Regions from separate parts of the Homo sapiens genome. Here region 1 is linked to region 2. Evidence: promoter capture Hi-C in 16 types of primary human blood cells and fetal thymus (Javierre and others, 2016). All regions are on one chromosome and are shown on one strand. The core of a region is centred on a gene start or on the middle of the fragment in contact, and the rest is flanking DNA. Distances in the headings are between cores, read along the strand shown.

Region 1 (5,395 bases), core at 2,714-5,213, 200 kb after region 2:
TATCTAGTTTGGGGAATTGGAAAATGTATGCTCTTGGATGGAATGAGCAAAGCTATGGGAGATGTGGCTAGAGAAGGATCCCATCATGACGGGCTTTGAATGCCATCCCAAAGAACTTAAACGTTCCTAAATGCAGTGGGAAGTTATGGAAGAATTTTAAGCAGAGGAGTAACATGTTCAGATTTGGTCTTTAATAAGATTACTATGGCATCAGTGAGGTGGCCTTGAGGAAATTACATTAAAGTTAGGTACATTAGAAGTAATGAGGACTTGGAATTTAGGTGAACTGGTGATAGGGATGGAGACTATGAAATAATCAATATTGGCTGGACATGGTGGCTCATGCCTATAATCTCAGCACTTTGGGAGGCCGAGGCAGGTGGATCACTTGAGGTCAGGAGTTCAAGACCAGCCTGGCCAACACGGTGAAACCCAGTCTCTACTAAAAATACAAAAAATTAGCCAGGCGTGGTGGCACACCTGTAGTCCCAGCCACTTGTGAGGTGGGAGAATTGCTTGAGCCTGGGAGGCGGAGGCTGCAGTGAGCTGAGATCATGCCACTGCACTCCAGCCTGGGCAACAGAGTGAGGCTCCCTCTTGGCAGGGGGGGAAGTCGATATTTAGGAGGCAGTCTTAAATTTAGAACCTAACACAATGTTAGGTACCAATATGTCATAGCCGGATGAAACTAGAGGGAAAAGAGGCATCTAAGTTGACTTTCACAGTTTCACATTTGACCTTTACAGATGTCATTAGTATAAGGATTAGAAGCAGGGAAACAGGTTTTGTGAAGAAGATGATAGGTTTAGTTTTGGACATGTTGAACTTAAGATGCTTATTGGACAAGAGGAGGAGGAGGACCAGATGGACAGATGGAATATTTTTATATCTGAGGTTTAGATGAGACTGGGATGGTGGAGTATGTAGATTTTAGGGTTTTCAGTCTGTGCTTTATGCTCCCTTTGTTGTAGTTACTCAATTAGTGCATCGTGAAAAGCATATTACCACAAAGCTAATGAAGCTAAAGCTTAAGTGCTCAGATGTGTGGGCTGCTTCCAAGGCCCTGGGAAGACCCCTAGCAAGTTTTACATGTTTATGTGTATTTGTAAATTTTGAAAAATCGGAAAGTTTACTGTGGGCCAAAATTACTCTTTCCACATTGAGTTACCCTCTCTTACTCTTGTGTGTGGCAATGTTGGAGTGGTCCCAAGCATTTTTGGGATTCAGCTGTGGGAAAGTTAAGCTGTGGATATACACTTTGTTTGAGTTTACTGGGATATATCTCTGTGGTTGCAGTCACTTTGATGTATAGTTATTGGTGGCCATCTCACTGCATAAATGATATCCAACAATGTGGATGTCACTCAAAGGTACAAGCCCTGCATTGTATTGAGACAGGAGTGTGTTCTAACACATCTGGCACTGGAATCTGCAAGTAGAAGAGCATGAAATGTGTGAAACCAAAAAGTGGCTGGTGGAAAAACTTTCCACTCACCCGATGTCTTAGCCTGAACATCAGCCTGGTAGAAAGACTTGCATGCAGGGAAGTTTATATGGAGTGCAGTCCCAGGAAGCAGGAGTTCAGGACAAGGAAAGTGAAATGAGAAGGAGGGAAAGAAAATTTAAGGATCTGATAGCGCCTAGGCAGCAGGTGTTCAATTCCACTAGAACCTTTTTAGGAACCTATGGAATGGAATGCTCTCAGAACTGTCTGCTTAAGTACAAAATGCGGGGGGGGCGTGAGGGGATTTATCCCGTTGATTTCTCCCTCTTGTTTGCATATGCATAACTGCAGAATAAGTTTCAAGAGAAATCCTAAGGCAGGAAGTGAAATATTGAGCATTAGCAATGAGGCAGTGTCTGCCTGCACTGATGCACGAGCATGAAGCCACTGCAAGCCTGCGTGAACTAGTCACTGCGGCAGTGGAGGGAGTGAGCACTGGGGCCTAGGGGGTTGGAAGTGGCTTTTTAGAGGTGTCCAACACTGTCAGAGGACCCTATTCCCCTTGATCCCTGGTTGAAATACACATTTTCTCTTGTTAGAAATATATACATTAGGGGCCGGGTACGGTGACTCATGCCTGTAATCCCAGCACTTTGGGAGGCCGAGGCAGGTGGATCACCTGAGGTCAGGAGTTCAAGACCAGCCTGGCCAACATGGTGAAACCCCATCTCTACTAAAAAAGACAAAAAACAGCTGGGCGTGATGGTGCACATCTGTAATTCCAGCTACTCAGGAGGCTGAGGCAGGAGAATCGCTTGAACCTGGGAGATGGAGGTTGCAGCGAGCCGAGATCACCCCACCGCACTCCAACCTGGGGGACAGAGTGAGACTCCATCTCAAAAAGAAAAAAAGAATTACCCTGTAGAATGCAAATTTTTAACAGTACTGCAAATTTCATCCAGAATGCCACTGTTAACATTTGTTTCTAGAGTTTTCTATATATAATTATGATTAATGCAATTAATTACAATGAATACAAATGGGAACATACTATAATATTCTACATGACTTTTTTTTAGAGTAGCCTTTCATAACAATTGATGTAGCTCTTTTTTTTTTTTTTTTTTTTTAAATAGCTGCATAGCATTCTATTGCTGATAGAATCCTACTATATCCACGCTAGCTGCATAGCATTCTAGTGTGGATATTGTAGAATTTACTTAACGGGGCTTTATCGTGGATGTTTAGGTGGTGACTTTTTTCTTATAGAAATATAAAAACTTAGCTGAGTGTGGTGGCTCACGTCTGTAATCCCAACACTTTGGGAGGCTGAGGTGGATGGATTGCTTGAGCTTAAGAGTTTGAGACCAGCCTGGGCAACATGGTGAAACCCTGTCACTACAAAAGATACAAAAATTAGCCAGATGTGGCTACCCATGCCTGTAATCCCAGCTACTTATGAGGCTGAGGCAGGAGAATCACATGAACCCAAGAGGTGGAGGTTGTAGTGAGCCATGATCATGCCACTGCACTCTAGCCTGAGTGACAGAGTAAGACCCTGTCCAAAAAAAAAAAAAGAAAAGAAAAACAGAAAAACTAATTTTTGTCTTCTATACATTTTTTAAATTTATTTTATTTTTATTTTTATGTTTTTGAGATGGAGTCTTGCTTTGTCACACAGGCTGGAGTACAATGGCATGATCTCAGCTCACTGCAACCTCCGCCTCCCAGGTTCAAGCAATTCTCCTGCCTCAGCCTCCCGAGTAGTTGGGACTACAGGCGCCCACCACCAGGCCCACTTAATTTTATTGTATTTTTTAGTAGAGACGGGGTTTCACTGTGTTAGCCAGGACAGTCTCAATCTCCAGACCTCCTGATCTGCCTGCCTTGGCCTCCCAAAGTGCTGGGATTACAAATAGGCGTGAGCCACCACGCCTGGACAATCTAAGGTTTTTTTTAAAAAGCTTCTGGTGAAGAAAAAACATGTACAAACAATTGTGAAAATGTTGCAAAAAATTTCCTCTCTTGAAATACATCCGTCTCTACAACTTAAAGGAGGATGAGTTAGGAAAGCCATAAACACAAATTCTACCCTAGGATCCTATTTTTGGTTGGTAGAGATGGGGGTTTCACCATGTTGGCCAGGCTGGTCTCGAACTCCTAACCTTGTGATCCGCCTGCCTCGGCCTCCCAAAGTGCTGGGATTACAGGCGTGAGCCACCGTGCCCAGCCCTTCTACACATTTTTAAGAGCTATTGGGGGAAAGTAGATCATGGGAATGGTGAGTAGGAATTATGAAGGAATCTATAATAGAGAACACTGGGTTTTAAAAGTTGTTTGCATCTTTTTTCTCCTCTATAATGAAGATGAAGTGCTTGAAGTTTCTGGGGACAGGAAGCAAAAGTAAAATGCTAGGATTTTAGGACAATGAGGAAGACCTTGAAATATTTTCACCCTTTCATTTTTTTTTTTGAAGTTTATCATATGCACAAAATTTACAGAAGATAATTAATACATTGGATAAGAATTTATCTAGATGATTAATTTTCCTTCTAATATCCAGAGATTTTTTGGGAGGGGGATAATCTTGATAGCTCTTTTCCCTTATATCACATAATTATTAACTATGTAATATATGTTTACTATTAAATGTATAATAATAAATAATAGCAATTCTACCTCGCTCCAAATTGAGGTCATCAGGAAGGACTTCCCAAAAAGAGGAGACTTGAGTGAGAAAAGGGGTTAAGGTCTGTCTTTCTTGTTTTTTTTTTTTGGTTTTAAAAACAAAACAAAACAAAAAAAACCATTACTTTCCCCTTCAAGCAGGTTTAAAAACCGACCTCATTCCTCTCCTTAAAACGCCTGTGACTGCAGCAAATGTACGGTGTGGTTTGATCTGCAGTGTTATTTAGCACATTGTCTGGGCTTAGGTAATTTTTGTTCAGTGACTGTGACAACAGGACCACATTTTTATGTATGACTTTTGTATAATTACTGATCTTGTCTACTTGTGTTGTAGAAATCAGCCAAGAAATTAGCTTAGTTGAAATCAGTAAGTTTGGACTGTAAAACAAAGCTTCTAAATAATTATTGGTCTAAAAACTAAAACCTTATAATGGAACAGAAGAGTAAATCATAAAACCAAAGCCCTAACATTTGGGCTTAGCAGCAGAAGTATAGATCTCTTTTAAAAATCTCCTACTGATCGAGACCATCCTGGCTAACAAGGTGAAACCCCGTCTCTACTAAAAATACAAAAAATTAGCCGGGCGCGGTGGCGGGCGCCTGTAGTCCCAGCTACTCGGGAGGCTGAGGCAGGAGAATGGCGTGAACCCGGGAAGCGGAGCTTGCAGTGAGCCGAGATTGCGCCACTGCAGTCTGCAGTCCGGCCTGGGCGACAGAGCGAGACTCCGTCTCAAAAAAAAAAAAAAAAAATCTCCTACTATTGGCTGGGCATGGTGGTTCATGTCTATAATCCCAGCACTTTGGGAGGCTGAGGTGGAAGGATCACTTGAGTCCAGGAATTCGAGACCAGTCTGGGCAACATAGTGGGACCGTGTCTTGAAAAATAAAAAATAACTCCTACTATTATTGGATATATTGGAATTCTACTAAACGGACTACTAAGTAGTCTGGTCAGTCCTCGTTTATCATTCTTATAAACGCTGCAGGCCTAAAGGAAAGACAGAAATAGTCTCATTGGTTCTAAAATAAACCCCTTAGTTCTATAGAAGAACTACCTGTCTCTTGGGGAACATGAGAAGGTTCCCATCATCTCAGCCTGAAAGCCATCTTTTGTCTTAGCCATGTTTTCCATTGCCCATCACTTACTAGGGAAACATTCCAATGAGTGTACAGTGAGTGTTACAGACCACCAAAAAAGATGAAGTGGAGATGCCCAGCATGCCTCACTATTTATAAGAAAATATTTCCCCAAAAGATGGGAAA
Region 2 (5,550 bases), core at 712-3,211:
CACCTCTGGTCCCTGCTTTCCTTCCTGGAGGAGAAGGCAGGTACCTGGCATGCTGACTCCCATGTGGGCACAGCCCCACTGCACTCCACCATGACTGCAAGGACTTGGTAGGACAGACCCTAAGGCCTCCTACTCCCAATTCCTTCAGAAATACAGTAGATCAAGGAGAAAGAAAGAACCCTTAATTAGAATGCAGCAGCATTGGGGTTCTTTTCGCTGACAGGGTGCCCTCTGGGCTTCTTTTTGCTCATCAGTTTCTGACCACAGGAAGGCAACTCTGGATGGGATAAACTCTCTAAACTATGCCTGTCCAGAGGGTAGGGAGCAGGTGAGCTTGTAGAGGCTGAGGACTGCACAGATCTCTGCTTTTCCCTGAGCCCTTAGCTGAGCTAAAGGCACAGCTCACCTCACTCAGGTTTACCCTTCCATTGCAAGCCTGCATACCCAGCCACAAGCCCACATTTGGAGAGTGCAGATGTTTTGTCTACCCAGTCTGGACTTGGGCCGAGCCGCCTCCTCCTAGAGGTGCCCCCCAAAGCAAAAGGGTCCAAAGCCTCCCTTTTCCATTTCCTGACCCTGAAGATCCACATGACTAGCCTTCTCCATCTTCTCTGCCCCCGGGAGGAAGCCAGCAGAGGTGGGAGCTAGGTAGTTGGTCAGCAGACCTGGCTGATTGGTCCAAGAAAAAATAAACCAACCCTTGGCTTGATCAAAGCTGAGAGGCTGGCAGGGCACAGTGGCTTACGCCTATAATCCTAGCACTTTGGGAGGCTAAGGTGGGAGGATCACGAGGTCAGGAGATCGAGACCATCCTGGCTAACATGGTGAAACACCATCTCTACTAAAAATACAAAAAATTAGCGGGCATGGTGGCATGCTCCTGTAGTCCCAGGTACTCAGGAGGCTGAGGCAGGAGAATCACTTGAACCCGGGAGGCAGAGGTTGCAGTGAGCTGAGATTGGCCACTGCACTCCAGGCTGGGCGACAGAGAGAGACTCTGTCTCAAAAAAAAAAAAAAAAAAAAAAAATGCTGAGAGGCTGGGGGCCCTGCTGAGTGGGAGGCTCATCAGCAACCCTGAAATGTCATTGTAGAAAACTGCCCCTGTGAGCCTGAGTAGCTGGAAATAGCACCAGGAAAGCAGCAATCCCAGCCTGCAATAGCTAGGCTAATTCTCCCCAGCAGCTTTCATGGAGGACAGTAGTCACTGCCCCCATTTTCCATGAAAAGTAACATGAATCCTGGCTGTATAAGGGGCACTTACTGTGCTGGGTGCTAGGCTAAGTGCTGTACATGCACCTTCTCAGTCCATTAGAGAAGTCTAGGCTCAGAGAGAGGAGTGGAGTGAGGATTCCTTGACCCCTCAGACCACTGTGGTCCTCCCATCCCACCTCCTGGGCAGCCTGGTAGAGGAGACATTCCTTTAATTCTTCCTGCCTAATTTAGAGGCTGGGTGGGGGTCTGAAGGTTCACTCCCTTCACATCATCCCACTAGTCTACTTTGGGAAGAATTACAGGTTGTTGGAGCTGGAAGCCCCATTCTAGGCATGGTCTGAAGACCTGAACAATCCCAGGGGGTGGTGAAGGGGGCAGGGAGGAGATGGGCACCACTTACCATTTGAGGCCGCCCAGAGAAGTCCTTGCCCTTCTTAATAAGCACCTCCTTGGCCAGCTGGTGGTGGCCGACAATCACTGTAGTCTTGGTGCCCATACGAACCGAATAGATGGGGCCATATTTTTTCTGCAGCTTGAAGAAGTTGTTATGCATATGGCCGTGTCTGGGGAGGAATGGCAGGCTGCCCACCAGGGGCAGGGACAGGAGGCTCTTGGGGTACTTGGCACCAGGGCACCTTCTCTTGGGCCAAAACAAATAAGCTAGGGTAAGCAGCAAGAGAGCCACGAGCTCCCACATGGTGGCTGGGTGCCGGCAGGCAAGATAGACAGCAGTGGAGTAGAAGAGCTGTGGCAACTCTAGGGCACAAGGAGGCCTTTTAAAGGGCTACCCTGATCTTCACCTTGACTTTGTGTTATCTCTTGCCTTGTGGAAAGATTCTCCTGGAGCCCAGCCAGGCCTGAGCTCATATCCAGAAGGGAGAGAGGCGGTGGGAGTGAAGGCCTCCTCAAGGGCTGGCTCAACTCCAGGGCAAACCTCCGGAGGAGGAGCTAGGTAAGGGAGGTCAGTTGATCACCCTCTGAGGAGCTCCCCATGCTTGAATGACTCCAGAGTGCGAATGGTATCTGGGCTCAGGAGTCAAGGCTTGGAACTTTCCATGTTGCAAAATCAAAATCACTGGACAGATGACAGATTCAGGAGGGTCACAAGTAGCAGGGACTGTTAAAGGTCTTTTATGCTTCTTTTTTTTTTTTTCAGAGTCTTGCTCCATCACCAGGCTGGTGTGCAGTGGTGTGACTGTCCATGCAGCCCTGGCCCTCCAGCCCATGTGGTTTTGGCAGCGATAAGGGCTGTGGGTTAATGGTCCCCAAAATAAAAATGTACATGTGTATGGGAACGAAAGGGGTGCTAAGCTGTGGGGAGCGGTGGAAGGGAAGGGAGAGATAGGTCAGTACTAGGAATGCCAGAGGTGGGAGGCCGTTTCATAACATTTCTTGTTGATCAAAATGCCATCAACACCTTCTTTGCTCATCAGCAGGACTAGCGTACTGGGGGAACCCACCCCCAATATTTCAACGTAGGTTCTTTCTATAAGTGTCAGCCGGCTGAGAAATAAAGAGAGACAGTATAAAGAGAGGAATTTTACAGCTGGGCCGCCGGGGGTGGCATCACATATCGGTAGGACTGTGATACCCACCTGAGCCTCAAACCAGCAAGTTTTTATTAAGGGTTTCAAAAAGGGGAGGGGGTGTAAGAACAGGGAGTAGGTACAAAGATCACATGCTTCAAAGGGCGAAAAGCAGAACTACTAATAAGTGTCTAACAAAGATCACATGCTTCTGAGGGAAAGGACAAAGGGCAAAAGCAGAACTACCGATAAGGGTCCAACAAAGATCACAAGGCAAAGGGCAAAAGCAGAACCACTGATAAGGGTCCAACAAAGATCACAAGGCAAAGGGCAAAAGCAGAACTACAGATGAGGGTCTATGTTCAGCGGTGCACATACTGTCTTGATAAACACCTTAAACAACAGCAAACAGGGTTCGACAGCAGAGAACCGGTCTGACCACAAATTTACCAGGGCGGAGTTTTTCCCCACCCTAGTAAGCCTGAGGGTACTGCAGGAGACCAGGGCGTATCTCAGTCCTTATCTCAACTGCACAAGATAGACATTCCCAGAGCGGCTGTTTATAGACCTCCCCCCAGGAATGCATTCCTTTCCCAGGGTATTAATAATAATACTCCTTGCTAGGAAAAGAATTTAGTGATATCTTCCCTACTTGCATGTCCATTTATAGCCTCTCTCAAGAAGGAAAATATGGCTCTTTCTGCCCGACCCTGCAGGCAGTCAGACCTTATGGTTGTTTTCCCTTGTTCCCTAAAAATTGCTCTTATTCTGTTCTTTTTCAAGGTGCACTAATTTCATATTGTTCAAACACATGTCTTACAATCAATTTGTACAGTTAACACAATTATCACAGTGGTCCTGAAGTGACAAACATCCTCAGCTTACAAAGATAACAGGATTAAGAGATTAAAGTAAAGACAGGCATAAGAAATTATAAAAGTATTATTTGGGAACTGATAAATGTCCATATTAAAATGAAATCTTCACAATTTATGTTCCTCTGCCATGGCTCCAGCCAGTCCCTCCATTCAGGGTCCCTGACTTCCCGCAACATCTCTCCCTTTCTTTTTATATAAATGTGCCGTGGCGATGAAGGCTTGCTCGTTCTCTCGGTTTTGATGCAGGATTCTTTGACTGGTCTGGCACACTAAAAACAAGCCGATTAAACAGAGAAACATGATTCCAAAATTTCCTACAGTGGAGCCCCCAGTAGACTTAATCCAAGTTGTGGAGTTTAGTCCAGAAAGACTTTCTGCCACCTGATCTAACGCCTCAGCTCCAGGCACAATGGATAAATGAGCTTGAGAGGCTTCAAAAATTTGTTTCTTTAATTTAGTTATGTCCAAGGATAAATTATCTTCCCTACCCAGAAGGTGTCCTTTGACCATTTCCCATGATCAGTCTCGTTGTAGGAATATGGTGTGCTATAGAAATCAGAAGTGTTGCAATCGAACTGCATTTGCATGTGATGTTCGAGACTCATTAGCTGGTCCCCAAGCCAAATAACAGACTGTCTTAAATCATTAGCTAATTTTTGATCAATGCCTTGTTGAGGATTCCACATTTGGGTGGAATTGCCTTACCAATCATTAACAAAATTAGCCATTTGAATAGATTGGTGTAATGCCACTCCGGCAGTGGTGGCCAGTGCAGTGACTGTAATTAGGCCCATGATCACAGTGATTAAAGTGAAAACAAATCTCTTGATCTTTTGAGAATTCGTTGTAACACTTCATTAATTAAATGTACTGAGGGGGAAGATTCCCAAGTTCTGGGTAAAGTTACTGGTATCCAGATTCCTTCTCAAGCTCGAACCAACATTACACTTTTCCTGAGTCAAAACGGGAGTTAACACAAGTGGATAAATGACAATTAATGCATTGGACGGTTTGATTGTTCATCCAAATTTTGATATTTCCCACTAACAGCATGTAAGGAGGCTTAACACAACTCTGTATAATAGTCAGGCTGGAGGTAAACAAAGCAGAATGTTTGAATCTACGTTGATACCGAGGGGGAGGAGTGGCGGTGGCAACGCCCAATGTTTGATGCCGTAAAGAAGCAATCCGAGGTGCCCGGGGATTCTGAAGAGGTAGGGGGACATACCTGGGTCCAGAAGAATTATCATAATGCCAATCAGAGTCCCATAAAGGAGGACTGGCATCAAAAAGAGGAAAATGGTCCAAAGGGGATTTATCATGGGTTTCAGAATCACGGATGTGAGGGGTGGTAGTGGGGACAACAGAAAGAAAAGTTTCCCCTTCCCATACTCGCAGTCTGGACATGGCAATAGCCAATTTCCAAAGTTCTGGGTGTTCTGGGCTCAGAATGGGGGATATCATAAGAGGCCTCGGGTGGCAGGGGGTAATGCTCTTATCTTCCCATTTTAAGGGACAGAATGAGCTGAACCTCCTATGCAAAGTAGGATGATGATCCTCGTCCTCCCAATAAGAAATAAAACAAGTAGCCTCCAGGCATTCCCTTCCAGCAGAAGAGCAACTGCTTTTCAAATAGCCCTTTGGTGCCCAGTCTCTTACTAAACCATATGAGTCATTTTTTAATAGTACTGCATGTGAATTAACACAATCTTCCCAAATTAAAGATTTAGATGGGCCCTCAAAAATTTTAGGACATGGTTTTCCTACAGGTTTATATTGAAAGTAGGGGGTATCTCCTATTACTCCCCCTTTCATTTGTCTTAAAGGAGAAAGGGAGAGGCTGGAGACCAAATGTCCCCGTTCCCCTGTGGCTGATCTCTCCAGAAGGTACGCAGCCCAGACTTGAGTTTCTAGATGGATACAACAAGGTGCA

Evidence for each region. The method cuts DNA at HindIII sites, captures the fragments that hold promoters and counts their contacts. A CHiCAGO score of 5 or more calls a contact.
Region 1: a fragment that was not itself captured here is called in contact with the fragment with the promoter of CYP17A1 in region 2 in 1 of 17 cell types (erythroblasts); the score reaches 5.9 in erythroblasts.

What each region holds. Positions count from the first base shown.
Region 1 is chr10:103,030,109-103,035,503 of GRCh38, forward strand. The region is part of intron 1 of CNNM2 (cyclin and CBS domain divalent metal cation transport mediator 2); the gene reads left to right. Among named protein-coding and RNA genes, the nearest start is that of CNNM2, 110 kb to the left of the region's middle. The HindIII fragment of the contact is 1,115 bases long and covers 3,407-4,521 here.
Region 2 is chr10:102,835,452-102,841,001 of GRCh38, forward strand. It overlaps CYP17A1 (cytochrome P450 family 17 subfamily A member 1), which reads right to left and starts at 1,962. Exons shown (of 8, transcript NM_000102.4): 1 at 1,614-1,962. The coding sequence starts at 1,910. RefSeq lists a promoter at 1,922-2,201. The HindIII fragment of the contact is 11,808 bases long and covers 1-5,550 here.